Regions from separate parts of the Homo sapiens genome. Here regions 1, 3, 4, 5 and 6 are each linked to region 2. The links are contacts of gene promoters, found by promoter capture Hi-C in blood cells and fetal thymus (Javierre and others, 2016). All regions are on one chromosome and are shown on one strand. The core of a region is centred on a gene start or on the middle of the fragment in contact, and the rest is flanking DNA. Distances in the headings are between cores, read along the strand shown.

Region 1 (3,512 bases), core at 317-2,816, 390 kb after region 2:
GCAACAGAGCAAGACTCTGTCTCAAAAAAAATAGTAATAAAAATAAAAATATACTTACCAGCTCGGTGTGGTGGCTCACACCTCTGATCCCAGCACTTTGGGAGGCCGAGGTGGGTGGATCACCTGAGGTCAAGAGTTCGAGACCAGCCTGACCAACATAGAGAAACCCCGTCTCTACTAAAAATACAAAATTAGCCAGGCGTGGTGGTGCATGCCTGTAATCCTAGCTACTTGGGAGGCTGAGGCAAAAGAATCACCTGAACCCGGGAGGCGGAGGTTGCAGTGAGCCAAGTTTGTGCCATTGCACTCCAGCCTGGGTGACAAGAGTGAAACTCCATTCTCAAAAAAATAAATAAATAAAATAAAATAAATAAACAGATGGTTCAAGTTTGGCCTCTCCCAGTAGGAATCCTCTTTGTGGCCTTCCTAACATCTGGCCTCCGTTTGAAGAATTTATGACAGTATAGCCCCTGTTGGATAATAATTGTATAATTACTGGAACATTATTGTTCCTTCTACTGGGCTGAAATCTGCCTCCTACTAACCTTCTAAACTCAGCTCTGCCCACTAGAGTTACACAGAACTCCCTCTTCCATTAGATTTCAGCCATAAGTGATTATTCTTCCCCTAACCTGTATAAAAGCAGCCCCAGTCACGGTGTAAGGATTTAGCTGCACTGCTGGCCTCAACCTCACCTGCCTGAATGAGCTGGAAAATAATTATCTACACAGAAACAGCCCAAGGAATTAGAATGATAGTGATGCTCAGATCCGGGGAGGCTGTGTCCCCCTGAAGGCCCTGGTCAGATCCTGGTGAAGTGGATGGTGCTGCCACAGGAGGGATGTAGGGTAAACTTCTCAGAGACTCAGGGCACTCCAGTGATCTGGGCCCAAAGCACACAGTTCCTTTTCCTCTCCCCACAATCCACACTGGAGCAGCAGGCTCTAGTGGGCCCCTCCCAGGCTGGCAGAACTTTCCCTATCACCCACTCCCCAGAAGCAAAAAAAGTTTAAAAAGCACCAGCCTAAGGCTGGGTGCAGTGGCTCATGCCTGTAATCCCAGCACTTTGGAAGGCTGAGGCGGGCAGATCACAAGGACAGGAGTTCAAGACGTGCCTGACCAACATGGTAAAACCCCGTCTCTACTAAAAATACAAAAATTAGCCAGGCATGGTGGTGCATGCCTGTAATCCCAGCTACTCGGGAGGCTGAGGCAGGGGAATTGCTTGAACCCGAGAGGCAGAGGTTGCAGTGAGCCAAGATCATGCCATTGCACTCCAGCCTGGGCAATGGAGCAAGACTCCGTCTCAAAAAAAATAAATTATTGTACATTTAAAAATAACTAAAAGAGTATAATTGGATTGTTTGTAACATAAAGGATAAATGCTTGAAGTGATGGATGCCCTGATGAGATTATTATGCATTGTATGCCTGTATCAAAATATCTCGTGTACCCTAAAATAGATACACATACTGGGTACCCACAAAAATTAAAAACTTTTTTTTTTTTGAGACAGAGTTTCACTCTTGTTGCCCAGGCTGGAGTGCACTGGCTCAATCTCGGCTCACTGCAACCTCCGCCTCCCAGGTTCAAGTGATTCTCCTGCCTCAGTCTTCCGAGTAGTTGGGATTACAGGCGCCCACCACCACACCTGGCTAATTTTTTTTTTTTTTTTTTTTTTTTGGATTTGGAGTAGAGACGGGGTTTCGCCATGTTGGCCAGACTGGTCTCGAACTCCTAACCTCAGGTGATCCACCTGCCTCGGCCTCCCAAAGCGCTGGGATTACAGGCATGAGCCACCAGACTCAGCCAAAATTAAAAACTTTAAAAAATAAATTAATAACCACAGCAGTAGCTAGTAGCTAATGGCTACCAGATTGGACAGGACAGTGCAGCACCAGACTGTAAGCTCCCTTTGAGCAGAGACTGGACTATCTTGTTCACTCTTATGCCCTGATACATAACACAATTCCAACACATAAACAGCAGGTTGTTATTTTCTTTTTTAAAGACAAAAATTTGAAATTGTAATTTTTATTAAATTGTAAATAAAATGTTATTTTATTTTATTTAATAACCTATAGCATTTGCCAATATCCAAGGTATAAATACTGCTGTCATGGTTGATTTAAAATGGTTTAATTCTGGGAAGCAAAATTTTCAAATTTAACAATCTTCTCTTACTAGCTTTTGAATGAATAAGCAAATGAATGAACAAATAAATGAGCAAATAACAAACCAAGAGGAGTCTCTGCATGCCTCACCCAAGGAAAAGAGGACAAAGGAGAGTAGAAGAATATTTCAAGATGCCAGCAGTCCTCTCACTCTCTTTGCAGGTCCTCTTTGTTCCAGGAAAGAGAACTTAGTGGGAGAACAATTGAACTTCCTCAGCTTCGCTTCACACACACCCCAGCTTTAAGAAAGCCCAGGAAGAATTTGTTTTTTTTTTTTTTTTTGAGACGGAGTCTTACTCTGTCACCCAGGCTGGAGTGTAGTGGCGTGGTCTCGGCTTCTCAGCTCACTGCAACCTCCACCTCCCAGATTCAAGCGATTCTCCCGCCTCAGCCTCTCCAGTAGCTGGGATTACAGGTGTGCACCACCACGCCCAGCTAATTTTCGTATTTTTAGTAGAGACAAGGATTTCACCACGTTGGCCAAGCTGGTCTCAAACGCCTGACCTCAAATGATCCACCTACCTCGGCCTCCCAAAGTTCTGGGATTACAGACATGAGCCACCTCACCTAGCCTTTGGATTACAGACATGAGCCACCTCGCCTAGCCTTTTTTTCTTTTTAAGGAAAAAAAGAAAAATAAAATCTCATCTTAATCTGCTCCATTTTTTTTTCTTTTTAAAGAAACTTTCCCAAGTCACTTAAACAGTCTTCGTAATGGGAAGGCACTCAAACTATAAATCTCCCTGTCATTTAGGAATGCTCAGTGCAAATGTTTATAGAACCCGGGCACCACTTTCAACCTCTCCTTTGAAGAAGGGCTTTGTAATCCTCCTCTGGGGTCACTCCTACATTCCAAAAATGTTCAGGAAAGGAAGGGAAGGTGCCCACCAGTGGGACAGCTTAGACCCAGGTCCCCACCCTCAGGTTCGGCCCTAAGAACATAAAGATACAAGAAAGGTCACGAGGTTAATTCAAAGCCAAGGAATGTCATGGCAGTAAATGCTGCAGGTGTTCACGGGGAGGATGATGGCCATGATTTGTGGCAGAAGTGAAACCTGAGAGATGCTAAGACTTGTGCAGTGGGAAAGGTGAGAAAATAATGAGAACAAAGTCCCCAAGGCTTGGCTGCATGCCTGGCAGCTAGTAGGTACTGCATAAATACAAGTTCATTGGCTCTCCTTGAGTTGTCTGGCTGGGGTCCCAGAGACTGAAACTTTGCTCTTGGCTGCAGCAGGGGCAAGATCGCAGGGGTGGGTACATGCCAAGCCCCAGGCAGCACGTCACCAGAGAGATAATCTTGAGCTGGTGGGAGCAGCCAGGCATGCAGTGGGGCTGAGC
Region 2 (3,781 bases), core at 974-3,473:
AGGAGGATGGGGCAGCTCTGTTATGCCTGGAGAAAACAAAGCCCAGAGAGGTAGTAGGTTTCCTCAGGTCACACAGCAAGGTTGAGCTGGACCCGAGTTTCACAGTTCCCAGACCAGAATTCTGTCTGTCTCTGTCCATTTCCTGAGTGTGTGTCTTTCCTCTCCAACTCACTGGAGGCCAGGACTATGACTCCACCCTCACCAGGCACCAGCCCCCTCACCAGGCACCAGCCCCCTCCCCAGCCTCCTGGGCTGAAGTCCTGAGCAGAGTTGTTAAGATGGGGGTGCGAGAGACCCTAATAAGGAGGCTCCTCCCTCTCTTACCTTCTTAAGCACCACAAACTCATTCTCTGCTGTCGTGCGCCGGTTAATCTCCACTTCATATCTGCCAGCAGGGAGAGTAGATGGCCTTAGCCCCCTTAGCCAAGGAACTTTCTCTTCCTGCTGGCCAGGCAAATGTTTGGGATACAGGGTCCCTGCAGGGTCTCTGGGGTGAGCAGTAAGAGGCTAGTGACAGGAGTAAGATATCCCTGAGTTGCTTCACTTGTCTCCTAGTTTTTGCATGTTAGGAAAACACCCAGGTGCCTATTGGGCTCCCGACACCAGCAACTGAACATTTCAGTGGGTCAAGGAGCACAGGAACCGCTTCCTATCAACTAGGCAGGAAGTTATCATCAAAGAGGATAGGCCCTTCCCCCTAGCCAGAGAAAGGGATGTGAGCTCCTGACCCTGGTGCATACTCCCCCATCTCCTAAAAAATAATGGCACAGAGATCAGGTGAGCCCAGAGGCACGGGAAACATGGTCTGTGACCCTCGGGTGGAGCCTGCTCACCTCTTCTTATAGTCCTCCACCAGATCCCTCATGCTTCTCAGCTCCGAGTCCAGCCTCACCCTGTCCCCAGACAGTGTCTCCAGCTGCTTCCGCAGGTTGCTGATGTAGCCCTCAAGGATGGGCTCCAGGTTCTTCTTGCAGTTGTTCAGGTCCAGCTGCTGCAGCAGCTCCCACTTGGTTTCTAGAACCTGGTTCTGCTGCTCTAGGAAGCGTACCTGGAACCCAAATCAACAGACACCTGGAACCACAATGGGTGCAGTCATGCCCCCTGGACACACACCATTGACTCCCCAGGTTTGCCATAGATTGTTGTAGTCATTTTTGCTCATGTCTTGACTCTCCACCCTTGCCATTCCACACAAACTAGATCCTTTACAAGTGCTCATTTCCTAGCCTTCTGGACAAGGCATCACTGAGAACTCACTCAAGGAGTTTCCACAGCTTTCTTCTATTGCTCGGCCCTGGTCCCAGGAGATGTCCTTCCTTATGTCTCAACTAAGTGTCTCTTCCTGTACCATGAGCCCTTCCCTCTGAACACTGCTGGATTCTATTAGCCTTTCATGTTCTTGGAAGATCCAGCTGTCCTCAAGAAACTCATCACTTTTTTGTCAAGGAAGGGCTGCTCTTTACCCAGCTTCCCATCCTTCCCTGCAAAATCGCCAAAGAAGCCGATATATTCATGTATTCCTTTGTCCTCCGTGGCTCACAGACCTACTCTCCTTCCCTAATGGTGAGGAAGCCCTTCCTGAGGCCCAGCTGCACCTTTCCAGCCACAGTGTGCAGTCCATTCCCAGGCAGCAGGAAAACTGCTCAGGCCTCAGGGTGCGGCCTCATCCTCCTCCTATGAGACCCACCTTGTCAATGAAGGAGGCGAACTTGTCGTTCAGCACCTTGATCTGTTCCCGCTCCTGGGCGCGCACCTTCTGGATCTCAGGGTCCAGCTCCACGTTGAGGGGGGCCAAGAGGCTCTTGTTGACAGTGACCTGGTGGATGCCCCCAGGTGGGCACACAGACAAACATGCAGGCCCCAGGGCCACACTGCCAAACATACTGCCAGCAAAGCCACTGGCCCGGCCCCCTCCATACCCAGAGCCAGGCCTGAAGCCGTAACCTCCAGCCCGAACGCCGCCACCAGCCACATTGAAAGAAATACGCCGATTCCCTCCAAGGCTATAGAGGCTCCGACTGCCAAAGCCAGCGCCAGCCCCTCTGCCAGCTGCACAGTAAGAAGCCAGGCTACCCACAGCCTTCCTTGGCACCACTGCCGAATGCACACTGAAGTTGCCCTTGTCACCACTGGACTTGATGTTCAGTTGCCGACTCATGGTGGGAAAGGTTGAGTTGACAGAGCTGGAGAAAAGCAGTCTCCAAGGGGTAGAGAACACACTGATGGGGCACCCAGAGTGCTGCCTCCTTTTATCCCTGTTGAGCCCAGGACACCGGAAAAGGGCGTCTCTCCACTATCTCCTTTCCCCTGCTGATGGGCCAGGGGCCATGGGCAATTTGTAGAACAGAGATCTCCAAGCCCTTTGCAGCAACAAAGCTCTTCTGATAGCAAGTGGAATATGCTGCCCTTGCAGAGTGGAGTGGTCTAATTTGGAGTTTATCTGTGCTCCCTAATTAAGGACCTGAAGAGTTATCCCCTGAAGAGATCTCCTAGCTTTATTTTTCCAGTGCTACCTCCTTCTTGCTTAACCATCAGCAAGGAGCAGGGGAAATGCCTGGCTTTCCCCAGAGTAGACTCACCTGAAAAACCCCAGGTTTCTTCCCAAAAGAAACCATCTCTCTATTATAGGGTCTTGTGTGGAAGCTGGAATTTTTACCTCAGGGAAAAGAAGACATGGAAAGATGATTCTTCTTGGAAAGATGTCCTCAAAGATCTGGATCTGGGTAAGAAGCTCCAGGGTCCGTCCTTGGGCCATGCTAAGGACCACAGCTGTCTAGCAGTGAAGTGGACCCCAGGAAGGAAGAGGAATGACTCTGCAGCATCTGCATGCCCCCCTAGCAGGGATATTGTCTAGGGCCTTCTGTGTTGGGCAGGGCCTGGGTGGTGGTGACCTTGACATTGCCTTACAACCATGAGAACCTTTCCAGTCAGCTGCATTTCCTCCAGTTGGATTTTCTCTCCTGGATAAGATTATTTGTCCTACTCTAGGAAGTCAGGCAGGAGCTGGGATATTAGCCCCTGCACTCCCTGGGGAAACACCCTATGGCTGAAGTCACCAAGGAACAGGACCCCCTGAGTTTCACTCCCAGGTTCAGGGTGGGCTGTTCTGCCAGTTTCCTGGCAACTTCAGGGAGCACTCAATTTTCAAACAGGAAGTATCACTGCTTTATAGCTCAGGTAGTGTGGGTACAGTGCAATGTTAAAAAATTATTTCAGGGCTGGGCATGGTGGCTCACACCTGTAATCCCAGCACTTTGGGAGGCCAAGGAGGGCAGATTGCCTGAGGTCAGGAGTTTGAGTCCAGCCTGGCTAACATGGTGAAACCCCGCCTCTACTAAAAATACAAAAATCAGCCGAGCGCAGTGGTGCATGCCTGTAGTCGCAGCTACTCAAAAGACTGAAGTAGAAGAATCACTTGAACCTGGGAGGCAGAGGTTGCAGTGAGCCTAGATTGTGCCACTGCACTCCAGCCTGGGCAACAGAGCAAGACTCTGTCTCCAAAAAACAAAAAAAATTATTTCAAAGCTAGGTATCTGGCAGCTGCCCTCATGCAAGACTCTGACCACTTCCTATAACTAAACTGAGAACACTTGGCTTGTTTGGATCCAGCCGAGGGCAGAAGACAACTGCTCCCACTGCTGGGGAGGGAAAAGGAGAAGCTGACCTGGGCAGGGAGCGTGGAGCTTAGGCCTGGAAGCTGCCCCGGAAGAATTTCCCCTTCACAGGGTGTTTTCCTCTCAGCCCCTGAGGTAACGGTGGAAGGTCCTTCCCCAGGGACCCT
Region 3 (3,520 bases), core at 736-3,235, 340 kb after region 2:
CAGGGAAGGCGGAAGGAGGGAGGGAGGGGCTGGTCAGACGGGTATGGCAGCCCTGGAAAGGGAGGACAGGCGCTCTCCCTATCTTCCCTCCCCCACGCTGCTGTTAGAGGGAGCAGGGGGCACTCAGGTCCTGATCTAGGCAGCACAAGGAGCAAAAAAACAGCACCCCAAAGCCTTTCCTGAAATTCCAGTCCCCTCCACCCCACCTTTCTGGTTCCCTGGTTCTAGGAGTGTCCCTTGTTTAAGGTGAGGACAGAGGGGGTTGCCAGGGACCCTGCAGTATGCAGGCTGGAGGGCTGACCCAGACCTTACCCAGCCAGGGGAAGCCCTTTTTTTCTGGGGCAGCCCAGAACCGTCTAGGGCCAGAAGTGTTTGTGTCTCATTTGTCATCTCTCTATTGCCCAGAGACCCCAGCCAAACCTTCCCCCAGATGCCCCAAGCACAGCCTCGGTGCAGGAGAAGAGGCCAGAGTTGGCCTCTCTGATGGCCCCTGCCTGGGACTTCAGGGTTAAAGGCAGAAGGAGAAGGCCCCTGGGACTAGGGCCAAGTGGTGAGGGAAGAGAGAACCAGACTGGAGCAGGCCCACAGGTACAACTCCTTGTAAGGCATTGTGGTCTACACACAGCTGCCTGCCGGACAAAAGGGAACAACGTGTTTGCGGTGCCTGCCCTACCCAGACAACTCTGCCTCAAACCGCCTTTCCTGGAGAGTGAACCAGGGAAGGAGGAGACACTCACTCCCTGTGGGCCAAGAGTGAGGGCCAGGCCCCCTACTTCTGATGGTGCAGGATAATTCAGAGAAGGCCCTGAGACCCTGAGCAGTGGCATTAAGTCTTGGGGCCAGTGGGGTGGGGAGGTAGCTGTTATCATCACTCATGATCATGGGAAGAGATGGTCTGAACAAGTTTTTTTTTTTCTTTTTTGAGACGGAGTCTCGCTCTGTCACCCAGACTGGAGTGCAGTGGCGCAATCTCGGCTCACTGCAAGCTCCGCCTCCCGGGATCTGAACAAGTTTTGCTTAGAGATCAGGACTGATGATCTCATTCGCTGCAACCTTGTTCATAATAGCCAAAGAGTGGGAACAAAACAAATGTCCACCAAATGACGAATGGATTTCTTTAATGTGGCATATCCATACGATCTAATGTTACAATTAAAAGGAATGAACTACTGATGCATGTTGGATGCAGATGAGCCTTGAAACCCGTATGCTCAGTGAAAGGAGACAGTCATAGAAGATCAGGTACCCTATGATTCCATTTATATGACATGTGCACAACAGGCAAAGCATAGAGACAGGAAGTAGATTAGTGGTTGCCTAGGGAGGGGAGGAATGGAGATGAATGCTAAAGAGCACAGGGTTTCTTTCTGGGGTGATGAGAATGTTCTAAATTTGATGGTGGTGGGCAGGCACAATGGCTCTACCTATAATCCCAGCACTTTGGGAGGTCGAGGCAGGAGGATTACTTTAGCCCAGGAGTTTGAGACCAGCTGAGCAACATAATGAGACCCCCGTCTCTACAAAAAATACAAAAATTAGCCAGGTATGGCGGCACACGCCTGTAGTCCCAGCTGCCCTGGAGGCTGAGTTGTGAGGATCACCTGAGCCCCGAAAGTTGAGGCCGCATGCATTGAGCCAAGACTGTGCCACTGCACTCTAGCCTGCGTGGGAGACAGAGTGAAACTCTGTCTCAAAAATAAATAAATAAATAAACAAATTTGATGATGGTGAAGCTGCACAAGTCTGTGAACATACTAAAAATCACTGAACTGCAAGCTTCAGATTGTTGAATTATATTGTATGTGAATTACAGCTCAACAAAGTTGTAACAAAAAGATAACCACAAAAGCATAAATGAGCTACATATAAAAAGCAGGGGCTTTGTGCCCAGCATAAGGGGTCAGGGGAAAGAAGCAAAGAGTTTGTTTAGATGCCCCAGGTAAAGAGGCTTCCTGCCTCTGGGTTAAGGCAATGCCCGAAAAGCACCCGAAATCCCTTTAAATGATGGAGCATTTTGAAATGTTATTATTGGTATAGAAATAGCTGCATTTAGCATAGAGACAGCAGAACAATTTGTTTAAATAGGAAGCCACAGGTGGTGGGTACACCCCTCAGGAAGCAGCATCATGAATAATAGAGTCAATTCGATTGCTAATTTTGTGTTATGTGCCTCAAGGCTAAAATTTTTCATTGTCAAAGCTTAGCAAATGCTGACTTTTTTGCTCTTGATCAGTGATGGATCTGATGATTAAAGCCAGCCAGGATGGAAATGGACTGCCTAGAGAGGGAGCAACCTCCTGTACCTGGAGACATGGAGAGGGACCTTGCTCACCAGCTGTCCACTGGCTCAGTGGGAGGGGGTTCTCACATCTGCTAGGGTTTGAATTAGAATGTCCAAGTCCCGCCAACTCTGAAAGCTTTTGATCCACATCCACCACCATAGAGCTTTACGCACTGAAGATGAAAATCTGTGAATGTTCTCTGGTTTGAAATTTTGCTTGTGATAAGAGATATGATTAGAAATTATTAGAACAAGAGTGAGGGAGGACAGCACAGCCTTGTTGTGGAGGAAGGAGACACAAGCCCAGCAGCCTGAAGATGTTGAGGTCTCCCACACTTTTTTTTCTTTTTTTTAGAGACAGGATCTCACTATGTTGCCCAGCCTGACTCGAACTCCTGGATGCAAGCAATCCTTCTGCCTCAGCCTCCCAAAGTACTAGGGTTACAGCGTGAGCCACTGCACACAGCCTTTCTCACATTTTCAACATTCTCTCACCCTCCTCTCCACTGATGCCAAACCAAGAAGGTCATCCCACTGGGTGAGCATGAAGCCTAGGCGGAAGGTCCCAGCTATGGCTCAGTCCACAGAGTCCTTCCCCTTAACTCTGGTTCTCCATCACATCAAGATCGCCCGTGGGAGATTATAACAGTATACGTGCTCAGGTCGCACCCCGTCTGCATTTTCAAAGCTTCCTCGGTACAGCCAGAGTCAGGCACCAGGCTTTAGCTCTGGTCCCAACACCAAGACCTTTAGGAACACACTTTCTTCCTCTTCCCAGAGGAAATAGGCCAGAGCTCAAATCCACAGCACTGCAGGTTCCTGCTTAGAAAGGGTGATATACTCTGTCCCTCAGGAAGGAAAACAGAGTGGTTCAGTCCCCAGAACCTGAAACTCCACCACCGTTGGCCAGGGCCACAGAGACAGAGACAGAGACTGCGAGAGGACAGACACAAATGGGTCCCACTCCTGACAGTGAAGACAGCGGTACTGGGGACTTGAGTGACAGGAAGTGGAAGTTATTGAGAGGATTTCAAGGAAACTTCAGAAGCTGACATTGCGATAGGGGAAGCCCTCATGGTGTTCAGGCAACCGGACAGGAGTGCAGGAAAAGAACAAACAGGAAGGACCTGGGGCTCCGCTATAGGCATCCTGCCCACCCCCACCCCAGCCCTGAGGATTCCCCTGGCCTGAGCTGCTTAGCACTGGAGCTGATATCCAGAGGCCCACTGTTTTGATTTT
Region 4 (3,484 bases), core at 256-2,755, 320 kb after region 2:
GTGGAGAACCAAGCAGATATGGTGTGTCCCTGCCCTCATGGAGCTTACAGTGTATGGGGAAAGGCTGATATTAATAAAATACCTCTGCAGATGAATGAGTGACTGTAATTTACAAGGAGAAAATACAGGGTGCCTTGGGAACTTATCATAGAAACACGCCACTCAGTTTGTGGTGTCTAGAAGACTTTCTTGTCTTGTGGTGTCATAAAACTTTTTGTCTTGTCTTGTGGTGTCAGAAGACTTTCTTGGGGAAGCTGCGTTTGAGCGGAAAGCTTGGGAGTGACTAGGAAAGGCAGGGTGTTCCAAGCAGGGGGCCAGCCATGCAATGCCCTGAGCAGAAGCAAATTCCATGTAGGCTATGCCCTGAAAAGCCTGCACCACTGCATCAGAGAGCAAGGGACAGAGTGGCCAGGATGAGGCCTCAGAGGAGGAAGAGTAGGCACAGCCTGTGGGCCAAGTCAAGATTTAGGGCTTTATTCTGGGTGTCAAAAGTAAAGGGTTTTCCCATCATTCTGAGCAAACTATTGCAAGGGCAGAAAACCAAACACCGCATGTTCTCACTCATAGGTGGGAATTGAACAATGAGAACACTTAGACACAGGGTGGGGAACATCACACACCAGGGCCTGTCGTGGGGTGGGGGTAGAGGGGAGGGATAGCATTAGGAGATATACCTAATGTAAATGAAGAGTTAACGAGTTAACGGGTGCAGCACACCAACATGGCACATGTATACATATGTAACAAACCTGCATGTTGTGCACATGTACCCTAGAACTTAAAGTATAATAAAAAATAAAGAAAGAAAAGAAAAAAATAAAATAAAAATAAAGGGTTTTCCATATAAGGAAGTAACTGAATCTGATTCATATTTTTGAGAATGCACTCTGATTTTGGGGGCAGTGAACTATTCTGTATGGTACTGTAATGGTGGCTACATGGCCCCCACAGAATGTCCACACTAAGAGTTAACTCTAATGTGAACTATGGACTGTGGGTAATAATGATGTGTCAATGTAGGTTCATCAATCGTAACAAATGTATCCCTCTGAGGTGGGATGTTGATGATGTTGTAACAAATGTAGCCCTCTGGTGTGGGATGCAGGTGTAGGGGCAGAATGTGTATGAGAACCCTCTACCTCCTGCTCGATTTTGCTATGAACCTAAAATTGCTCTTTTTTTCTTTTTTTTTTTTTTTTTTTTTTTTGAGACGGAGTCTTTCTCTGTCGCCCAGGCTGGAGTGCAGTGGCATGATCTCAGTTCACTGCAAGCTCTGCCTCCTGGGTTCACACCATTCTCCTGCCTCAGCCTCTCGAGTAGCTGGGACTACAGGCGCCTGCCACCACACCCAGATAATTTTTTTGTATTTTTTAGTAGAGACGGGGTTTCACCATGTTAGCCAGGATGGTCTCGATCTCCTGACCTCGTGATCCACCCGCCTCAGCCTCCCAAAGTGCTGGGATTACAGGCATGAGCCACAGCGCCTAGCTAAAACTGTTCTTAAAAAATAAGTCTACTAAAAAAAAGTGCACTCTGGCAAGGGGCCCAAGTGAACCTTCTGTGATATAGGAAATGTTCTACATTACAGGTGTGAACATAAGTTAAAACTCATCAGGCGCCGGGCACGGTGGCTCACGCCTGTAATCCCAGCACTTTGGGAGGCTGAGGCGGGTGGATCACCTGAGGTCGGGAGTTGCCTGACCAACACGGAGAAACCCCGTCTCTACTAAAAATACAAAATTAGCCCGGCGTGGTGGCGCATGCCTGTAGTCCCAGCTACTCAGGAGGCTGAGGCGGGAGAATCGCTTGAACCTGGGCAGCGGAGGTTGCAGTGAGCCGAGATCGTGCCATTGCACTTCAGCCTGGGCAACAAGAGTGAAACTCCATCTCAAAAAAAATAAATAAAAATAAAAATAAAAAAACTCATCAGGTTGTACATTCCCCATTAAAGCACATTTTGCATTTTATTGTATGTACAATATGCCTCAGCAAGGAGGAAACAAAGGGACTTGTGATTGGCCAAGGCTGGCCCATTGTGAACCCTGTGTGCCTGGACAGAGGTCCTGTGATCTTAGGAGGAACAGTTCCTGAAAAGAAGTGGGGCGTGGCAGGAGTGGAGGTGGGGGAGCTTTGCATTACTAGAAGAAGGGGGAAGGGGTCCTGGCTAGACAAAGCAACTATGCCCACCACAATGTGTAAAAGGGCAGCGCGGAGAGTGAACTAGGGGGCCACCCACCATGCTGGTATCCTTCCCTGCCTTCCTTTCCTTGCAGTGGTGCTTCCTCTTCCTTTCCCAACAGGTAGAATCTATGATATATAATTACGTAGGGACATGCATGCACACATTTCTATCTATCCTTCATGAAGGGTATGTACTGTCCGCATTGTCACATGCCTTGCTTTAACATTCACTCCTCCATTCCCACCACCTTACACTCCAGTCAGCCTGGCCCTCGGTCCTTAGCCCACCTTCAGATCCCCCTACTACAGGGGAGCTCCTAGACCACCTTAGCCCAGATCAGCGGGCAGGCAGAGCAAAACCTTGGAATTAAAATATCTTCAGAAGAGTCCACAAATGCTTGGAAGACTCATCATTTTAATCCTGGGTGGTTGGGTCGGGAAAGGCAGGGTGGAGGGAAGTGGGGGATAATGGCTGGCTCATCTGGAATAGTCAAACAGGAACCTTCTTCTACACATGTAAATTTTCTAAAAAACTAAAATTCAGTCCCATAGGAAATCAAGCTTTAAAAACAAAAAGTCTACTAAAATTTAAATGTGCACACATTTTGCTTCAGCAATTCCACTTGTAGGAATTATTAAGATATCCTCACCATTGTCATAGCAAATACCAATAGAGGACTGGTTAAGTAAATTGTGGCACATCCCAAAGTGGAATATTATGCAGCTGTGAAAAAGAGTGGAGAAGCAACTTGTATACTGATATGGAAGGAACAGGTATTGGGTGAATGTTAAAGCAAGGCATGTGACAACACATATAGTACAATACCCTTCATGAAGGATAGATAGAAATGTATGCATGTATGTCCCTATGTAACTATATATAATAACTTCTACTTGGAATGAATCACAGGAAACTGGTAGCATTAATTGCCCTCTGGAACAGAAACTGGCTGACTGGGGAAGGGTCCTCTTGTACTTTTGAATTATGTATAAAGGCCGGATGTGGTGGCTCACACCTGTAATCCCAGCACTTTGGGAGGCCGAGGCCTCCTGGCTAACATGGTGAAACCCCGTCTCTACTAAAAAATAAAAAAAATTAGCCAAGTGTGGTGGCAGATGCCTGTAGTCCCAGCTACTCGGGAGGCTGAGGCAGGAGAATGGCGTGAACCCAGGAGGTGGAGCTGGAGCTGGCAGTGAGCCGAGATCATGTCACTGCACTCCAGCCTGGGTGACAGAGCGAAGACTCCGTCTCAAAAAAAAAAAAAAAAAAGAATTATATATAAAATGTATTTGTTACCTATTC
Region 5 (3,861 bases), core at 655-3,154, 350 kb after region 2:
CTCAGCTCACTGCAAGCTCTGCCTCCTGGGTTCACGCCATTCTCCTGCCTCAGCCTCCCGAGTAGCTGGGACTACAGGCGCCAGCCACCACGCCTGGCTAATTTTTGTATTTTTAGTAGAGACGGGATTTCACCTTGTTAGCCAGGATGGTCTCAATCTCCTGACCTCGTGATCCGCCCGCCTCGGCCTCCCAAAATACTGGGATTACAGGCGTGAGCCACCACGCCCGGCTCTAAATTATTTTTATTACTAATTATTAATTTTTGAAATTATTAAAATTACCTGTATTATTACATTTAAATTAATATGGATTTTAGAGCTTTGAATTGCCTAAAGTGCTTGCAGTGTAGTGAGAAAAGCATTATATATTTTTTTTTTCGAGACGGAGCCTCGCTCTCGCCCAGGCTGGAGTGCAGTGGCATGATCACTGCTCGCTGCAACCTCCGCCTCCCGGGTTCAAGCGATTCTCCTGCCTCAGCCTCCCGAGTAGCTGGGATTACAGGCGCCCGCCACCACGCCTGGCTAATTTTCGTATTTTTTCAGTAGAGACGGGGTTTTACCATGTTGGCCAGGCTGGCCTCAAACTCCTGACCTCAGGTGATCCGCCTGCCTCAGCATGAGCCGAGTTGTGAGCCACCCACCACACCCGGCCAAAAGCATTATACTTAAAATCATACATTAGGCCAGGCGCAGTGGCTCATGCCTGTAATCCCGGCACTTTGGGAGGCTGAGGCAGACAGATCACAAGGTCAGGAAATCGAGACCATCCTGGCTAACACGGTGAAACCCTGTCTCTACTAAAAATACAAAAAAATTAGGCGGGCATGGTGGCGGGCGTCTGTAGTCCCAGCTACTAGGGAGGCTGAGGCAGGAGAATGGCATGAACCCGGGAGGCGGAGCTTGCAGTGAGCTGAGATTGCGCCACTGCACTCCAGCCTGGGCGACAGAGGGAGACTCCGTCTCAAAAAAAAAAAAAAAAATCATACTTGATTTGGGCTCTCAGCTTTTGTTCTCTCATATGTAAAATAAATTAGATTGAGGCTGCAGTGAACTATGACAGGCCACTGCATTCCAGCTTGGGCGACAGAGCCAGACCCTGTCTCAAAAAAATAAATAAAAATTTAAAAATAAAATAAATTATATGATGATAATGTTTGTAAAGATAATTGTAAAGATAATTGTAATTTGTAAAGATAATTGCTTGTATAGGACACTACTGTATAGGACACTACTGTGATGGGAAAAGACCATGCACTCTTCTCTAAGAATTCACCGTTCCTTCTGTCTTTTGCCTTCCTCCCCTCAGCTAAAGGGCTCCTGGAGTGAAGTGGACCCTCAGCTGTACTCTGTGGTCTGCGGCAACAGCCAACGCACAGAGGAGCATCCTCTCCTTAACTAAGCACCGAAAGGGAGTGAAAGGGTAGACTGAAGGAAGGACTTACTAATTCAAGGAGTCATTGGAGCAGAAATGAGTGACCAGGAATGGGGAGGATGCGTCTGTGGAAAAGGAACAGGGCTGGGCCCCCTTCTCACTGGTCCTAGATGGGATCAGGCCTGCCCAGAAGCCAAGAAAAAGATGTTGTATAGACCTCAATGGGGCAAGGCCGGGATGATTGAGGGGATACCTTCAGGGGAGGAGGTGCTAGGCAGTTTTCTGAAAATGGTGCGTTCAGACAGCTCACTATTTCCTGTAGTAATTCCAGGAAAAGACTGAGTAAGACAAGGTCAGGACCGGGAGGAATGCAGCTGGAGGAGGTGTGTATGCACAGTCTCCCCAGGGTGAGCCTGTCCAGAGCCATAAACCTTATCTCCTTCCTCTGAATAGCTGGGATAGCTATCTCTGGCTCCCAGGGGCTCAGGCTGAGTCAGGGCTGGAGGCTGGGAGAGACTGTGGGCCCCGAAGCATACCTAAAACTGTGAGACCACTCAGCACTTAGGTATGAATGGCGCCATTTAGGGTCTGAAATGGTCACCATTTTCAGAAACCTGCTCAACACCTCTTCCCCTGCAGGTATCCCCCTCCGTCATCCTGGCCTTGCCCCATTGATACCTGAAGTGTGGCACATTCAGGAATGAGATTGGAGCAAAAGGGATCTCTTTGGCGGAGGTGGGGTCAAAGAGATAGATTAGGATGATTCATCTCCACAAAGGCTAAGGCTTTAGATTCCTACCAGCCAGCCCCAGGCCAGAAATTTCCCCTTCAAGGAAAGTTGGGCTCCAGGGCTGGGCAATACTATCACCTCAATTATCCCTCTGTTCCTGAGTTCTAGGGTTTATGCACAGTTCTTAATGGGGCCTAATAGTTTCTTTGTCTCTTCCAGCCCTCTATCTTAGAGGACAGGAGGTGGAGCCTACCAACAAAGGGACCCAGGTTCCAGTTCCAGGGCTGCGTTTCTCTCCCCCTCAGGGCCCATTACTCTGAGCTGGGCCCCAGGTAGGGGAGGAAGGAGGAGAAAGGAGGCAGTGTTCTCATGTTCTCTGTGTCCCTGAGAAATTCCCCACCTCCCTTTCAAGCTCCCTCCTAGCAGGCTGGTGAGACCTGCCCTGGAGACAGGCTGGTGCGAGAGGCCCCCTCTGCAGAGTGGAAGGGGGTGACATAATTGCCTGTCCTGAGACTTCTAGACATGTACACACTGTCCCTCTGCCTGGTGTGTCCCTGCCCCCCGCCCCCCACCACCTCTCCTGCTCGCTCAGGTATCCTCTCCAGTGCCCAGCCAGACTGATCTTCTACAAACACTGCTTTGATCCTGTCACTCCCTAGCCCAGAGCTTCCCGTTGCCTTCAGAATAAAGGTCAAATTCCTCATCTGGTGGCTGAGGCTTAGCCTTCCCCACCTGGCACTAGCTGCCCTCCCCACCCCACCCCCAGGACTGTGCCCTCCTCTCCTGAAGCACCTCCTTGTCACCTGCACCTGTTGAAACCTTACCCTTCCTGCAGGTCCTGGCTCCAGCTCACCCCATTCATTCCGCAAACATTTGCTGAATGAAAATCATGCATCAGGCACCTCCCCACAAAGCCTGCCCCAGTCACCTCTGCCGGAAGTGGCCACTCCTATAGAGACCCCAAGAATAGGGCTTTGTTACACCCCTGGGCTGGGTTACACTTGCTGTGGGCATGTCTGAGCTCCCCTCCCTGATTGTAAACCTGATCCACAGTCATTTAGCATGCACTGAACATCCACTATTAATGAGGCATTTTCCATATTTGTCTCATTTGACCCTCACAAGGACCTTGGGAGTTCAGTCTTCTTATCCTTATTTACAGATGAGGAATCCAAGGCTCTAAGAAGTAATGTGCCCAGCAAGTAGTAGTCAGAGCTCAAACCGGAGTCCTGTACCCTAAGTCCAGGGCCCGCACATCAGCGCCAAGGCATCTTCCTCAAAAGTAGGGGCGTGTCTTATACATGTTTCTGCTTCCCTCCACACCCAGCACAGGAACTTGTTTGATTCACTGAATGAATGAATGAATGAATGAATGAATGAATGAATGATTCAATTCTATCCCATGAGTCCTCTTCTCTACTCTGACCCTATCTCCTCTCTCCCACATTGCTTTTTTCCTATCTTCTGTCCCTTACCCTGGACCCCAAGGATTCCCCCCAAGGGAGGAAAGAAGCTGTGATTGTTTCATGGATACCAGAGATGGGAGCTAAGCCTCAGAAGGGTGTCCACAGCCTGGACACACCCCAGGGAGGAGATTCAGGACAGGAAGACCCCTTCACCTTCACCACCACTCAGTTTGATAGACCCAGGAGAGTTCCAGTCCTTCTCTCCACCCCTCCCCAACTCCAGCAGGAAATAGGTGGGCCCAAGGGAGCAGCAGGACAAGCCAGAGAACAGTGAGAGGGTGAAGAGGGGCCCA
Region 6 (3,722 bases), core at 237-2,736, 370 kb after region 2:
GAGACAGGGTCTTGTTATACTGCCCAGGCTGGTCTCAAATTCCTGGCCATAAGCGATTCTCCCACCTCAACCTCTCAAAGTGCTGGGATTACAGGCATGAGCCACCTGGCCGAATCCAGGTCTTTTGACACCAAGTGCCCTATTCATCCCTTTGCCCTCCCCTAATCTCTGGGCAGATTTGAGTGAGGCGATAGGCTGGGGGATATGGCATTGGGATACTGGGGTTGCACCTGAGGAGAAGCCAACAGCACCAGGGTCAGAATGGGCAAAGGACATAAGCACAGGCAAGGCCATTCCTGGTGGGGCTGGGCCAGGGAGCTGAGGGGCTCCTAGAAGGGCCAGGTTCCCCGACTTCTCTGAGCTTCAGCGCCTGGAGGTTTCTGGGCAGCCACACGCTTCTCAGCGCTGACCCTTCCTCTTCCTTTATCCTTGGAAAATAACCCCTAGGGCACAAACCCAACCGAAGCAATGATACTAAGTGTCAGGGCATTCCTCGACTCTCCCACCCCTGGGGAAGAGGGCCTGGCCCAAGCCCTGAGAACCCGTTCCCACCTCCACAGGCAGTGCCAGGGACTCCAAATAGGGTGCTGAAATTCCAGAAGTCTTGATATCAGACTGGGTCCTGCACCCAGCTGCCACCCGCATCCTCCCCCTGCTCCGCAGCTGCCTCTGAAGCTTGTACCCTTGCCCCCACCTCTTGTCTCTCTGCAGTCTACCTGACTGCACTTTCTGATGACCCCCACTGACCTCTCCTAGCACCCCATGTTTATTAATTACTTAAACCTAAAGTATTTACGGAGCTCCACCTATGTGCCAGATGCAGGGCTGGGCAGGAGGATTCCCATTCCACCCCAGATTCCTTTTCCTTTGGGTTCTACCCCAGATCTCCCTCTGTCTCAACAGCTCTACCCTTAACTCAGCAGCCCTGGGATTTCTCCTGTGGGAGGGCCCCCTGCATGGGTATACCCTCCACTGAGAGTAGCTGAAAGGAGCCCAGGGGAGCCTCCCAGGCGATCCCTTCCTCCCTCCAGCCCACCCCACCACAGGGCCTTCTCACTGTCTCCAACACACTGGAGTCACCCTCAGTCTTTAAAGAAGAGGATGGGAATCAGTCTCTCCCTGTTTTGTGTATAGACCCCATCCTTACACCTCAGTTGCTGTTCCGAACACCTCCCTCCTCCAGGCTGAGCAAGGAATTTCCAGCCTAAATGTTAAAGCAAAGGCGGAAGGACTGCAGGCCTTCCAATCCTCCCTAATCCTCTCATCTCTCCACCACCTAGTTTCCCCAGAGCCATCAGCTCAAGCCCTTTGTGGGAGAATGTGGAGTGGGCAGTAAGAGCTGACCCACCCCTATCGGGTCATCTCTGAGTCTACTCTGAAGTTAAACCTGCCTCACAGGTTCCCACTCCCCTTCTGCTGGACGCTGGAATGCAGGACTGATGGTGGGTGGAGAACCATTTCCCCTCTTTCCGGATTCCCCCCTGCCGAGGCTCATTACTCTTTGTGTCTGTTCTGGGAGCTTCTCACCAGGGCCCCTCCTGCTCCACCCTTTCCCGGGACTGTCCTCACAATCACGCCATCCCCCTTTCCACCTTGCTTCCCACCCCCACCCCAGAACCCTAGTGCTGGGAATCTGGAGGCCGAGACCTTCACCCCAGCTCTCCAAGAGGCTCTCTGACAAAGTGAAAAAGCCCTGAGCCACAGAGGAATCTGGAAGTGGTGGAAAGGGGCAGGCTGGTGCTGGAAGCCCGAGGTCGGTATTTGCCCCATGCTGCAAGAAGTCAGGAATGTGGCCATCGACATCAGTAGGAGAGATAAAGTCTAGCTGGCAGCTCTCCCTCTCCAGCCCCCACGCTGCACCTCCACAGGTCCCAGAAGTTTCCTAGCAGTTGGGGTGGGGCAGGAATCAGACAAGGACCTGGGAATTAGCTTGGAGAAAAATTCTAGAATCTGTTTTGATTGCTGGTAGATTTCAAAGTGCCCCAGGGTTTTTAAATGACTCAGAGAGACAGACTTCAAACCCCTTGAGCCCGTCTTTCGAATTAAATTGACCCCCTTTATCTGCCCTCCTGTATATATTGAAGCCTTCCTTACTTTGAAGGAAGGCTCCAGTACAAATAATTAGTATTTGTTTGATGAATGAGTGAGTGACAATTTACACTCACATTCACTGCCACCTGAGGAAATAGACTGGACAGGTCTTACTGTTTTCCCTGTACAAGTGAAGAAATTGAAGTTCAGAGTTAGGTGACTTCCCCAAGGTTACACAGCTAGCAAAGTATCCAGGCTGGCTGACTTAAAGCTTAGCAATAACAGTAAAAGGCAGTACGTAGCTTGTTGACTCCACATACTTTATTATAAAATACTGCCCAACTTGACAGTTCTGGAATCCAGTGGGGGAATATAAAGGTGAAAGCAGGAGAGACCCCTCTGACTGGAACCTCTTACCTCCCAGAAGCCTTGTATGCAAAACCAGTGGGCATTCATTTGTATGTTATTTTGCATCCCGTTTGCCTCCCAGCCTTCAGCAGGCCCCGACCCTCCCCTGGCCAGCTTCCACCCTGACTGCCCCCTGGCTGGCTCCCATTGAGCACTGTGGGGCTCTCCCCACCATTAGGTGACAGATCAGGAACAATCCAGGCTCAGGCTCTTTATCTGTGCTCTGCCTCCCACCTGGCAGGTCCACTGGCCAGGCTTTTCCAGGGTCCCTTCTCTCCCAGGTCTGCCCTACTATTTGTCCTCCCCTTCCCCCTCAGCTGGTAGCTCGATAAGAATCAATAGGTCCACTCCAGAGCAAAGAACACAGCCAAATGTGTCATACCAGGCCCTGCCAGAAAAACGAGCTGCTGGAGCTGACAAACTTGAAGGCCAAACACCTAAGGGTTCCCCCCAACACTTCATTCAGCAGGGATGGTCATTCAGCTTCAGGGGGCAGGCAGCATGAAAGCCTCCCTACCTCCATCCTTCTCACACAGAGGCTGGGGAGAGCATCTTGGAGGATGCAGTCCCCTGGGGCCAGGCTTCTAATCCAGACAGCCCTTACAAGGGGGGACAGGGGAAGGACTGGCTTGGAGAAAAGTCCTAGAAAAGAGGGGAGGGGCACTGGCCACCAGGGCTGGGTCGCTGCTATGATGGTCCTAGGAGTGCCTGCCTGTCCTCTCAGGCCCCATGCGATGTAGGACACATTACTTTTATTTATTTATTTATTTATTTATTTTGAGTCAGAGTTTCGCTCTGGTTGCCCAGGCTGGAGCGCGACGGCACGATCTTGGCTCACTGCAACCTCTGCCTCCTGGGTTCAAGCGATTCTCCTGCCTCAGCCTCCTGAGTAGCTGGGATTACAGGCACACACTGTGCCTGGTTAATTTTTGTATTTTTAGTAGAGAAGGGGTGTCACCATGTTGGTCAGGCTGGTCTCAAATTTTTTTTTTTTTTTTTTTTTTTTGAGACAGAGTCTTGCTCTGTTGTCTAGGCTGGAGTGCAGTGGCATCGAACTCTTGACCTCAAGTGATCCACCCGCCTCGGCCTCCCAAAGTGCTTGGATTACAGGCATGAGCCACTGTGCCCGGCGATGTGGGACACATTATCATCTCTGTGAGAGATTTTTGGTCTCTTTTGTCACCGCCCTTCTCTCCCAGCTCCTAGAACTGGGCCTGGCTCACAGTAGGTGCTGAATGCATACTGGTTGAATTGTAAATGCTCAGGATTTGTTTAATTAAGGA

What was found. The method cuts DNA at HindIII sites, captures the fragments that hold promoters and counts their contacts. A CHiCAGO score of 5 or more calls a contact.
Region 1: a contact is called between a fragment that was not itself captured here and the fragment with the promoter of KRT74 in region 2, in 6 of 17 cell types (naive CD8 T cells, M0 macrophages, total CD4 T cells and 3 more). The highest score is 14.3, in naive CD8 T cells.
Region 3: a fragment that was not itself captured here is called in contact with the fragment with the promoter of KRT74 in region 2 in 2 of 17 cell types (naive CD4 T cells and naive CD8 T cells); the score reaches 6.4 in naive CD4 T cells.
Region 4: a fragment that was not itself captured here is called in contact with the fragment with the promoter of KRT74 in region 2 in 9 of 17 cell types (naive CD8 T cells, M0 macrophages, non-activated CD4 T cells and 6 more); the score reaches 15.4 in naive CD8 T cells.
Region 5: a contact is called between a fragment that was not itself captured here and the fragment with the promoter of KRT74 in region 2, in 1 of 17 cell types (naive CD8 T cells). The highest score is 6.2, in naive CD8 T cells.
Region 6: a fragment that was not itself captured here is called in contact with the fragment with the promoter of KRT74 in region 2 in 2 of 17 cell types (M0 macrophages and naive CD4 T cells); the score reaches 7.0 in M0 macrophages.

What each region holds. Positions count from the first base shown.
Region 1 is chr12:52,966,996-52,970,507 of GRCh38, forward strand. No RefSeq gene overlaps it. Among named protein-coding and RNA genes, the nearest start is that of KRT18, 20 kb to the left of the region's middle. The HindIII fragment of the contact is 7,174 bases long and covers 1-3,512 here.
Region 2 is chr12:52,571,620-52,575,400 of GRCh38, forward strand. KRT74 (keratin 74) reads right to left here and starts at 2,224. Exons shown (of 9, transcript NM_175053.4): 1 at 1,688-2,224; 2 at 834-1,048; 3 at 325-385. The coding sequence starts at 2,158. RefSeq lists an enhancer at 649-818. The HindIII fragment of the contact is 6,698 bases long and covers 1-3,781 here.
Region 3 is chr12:52,907,322-52,910,841 of GRCh38, forward strand. It overlaps a transcript of KRT8 not described here. Among named protein-coding and RNA genes, the nearest start is that of KRT8, 4.0 kb to the left of the region's middle. The HindIII fragment of the contact is 423 bases long and covers 1,775-2,197 here.
Region 4 is chr12:52,890,259-52,893,742 of GRCh38, forward strand. No RefSeq gene overlaps it. Among named protein-coding and RNA genes, the nearest start is that of MIR9898, 7.0 kb to the right of the region's middle. The HindIII fragment of the contact is 2,470 bases long and covers 271-2,740 here.
Region 5 is chr12:52,923,486-52,927,346 of GRCh38, forward strand. It overlaps a transcript of KRT8 not described here. Among named protein-coding and RNA genes, the nearest start is that of KRT8, 20 kb to the left of the region's middle. The HindIII fragment of the contact is 7,195 bases long and covers 1-3,861 here.
Region 6 is chr12:52,944,280-52,948,001 of GRCh38, forward strand. It overlaps a transcript of KRT8 not described here. Among named protein-coding and RNA genes, the nearest start is that of KRT18, 3.0 kb to the right of the region's middle. RefSeq lists enhancers at 1-70, 1,260-1,855 and silencers at 2,806-3,100, 3,486-3,722. The HindIII fragment of the contact is 1,627 bases long and covers 674-2,300 here.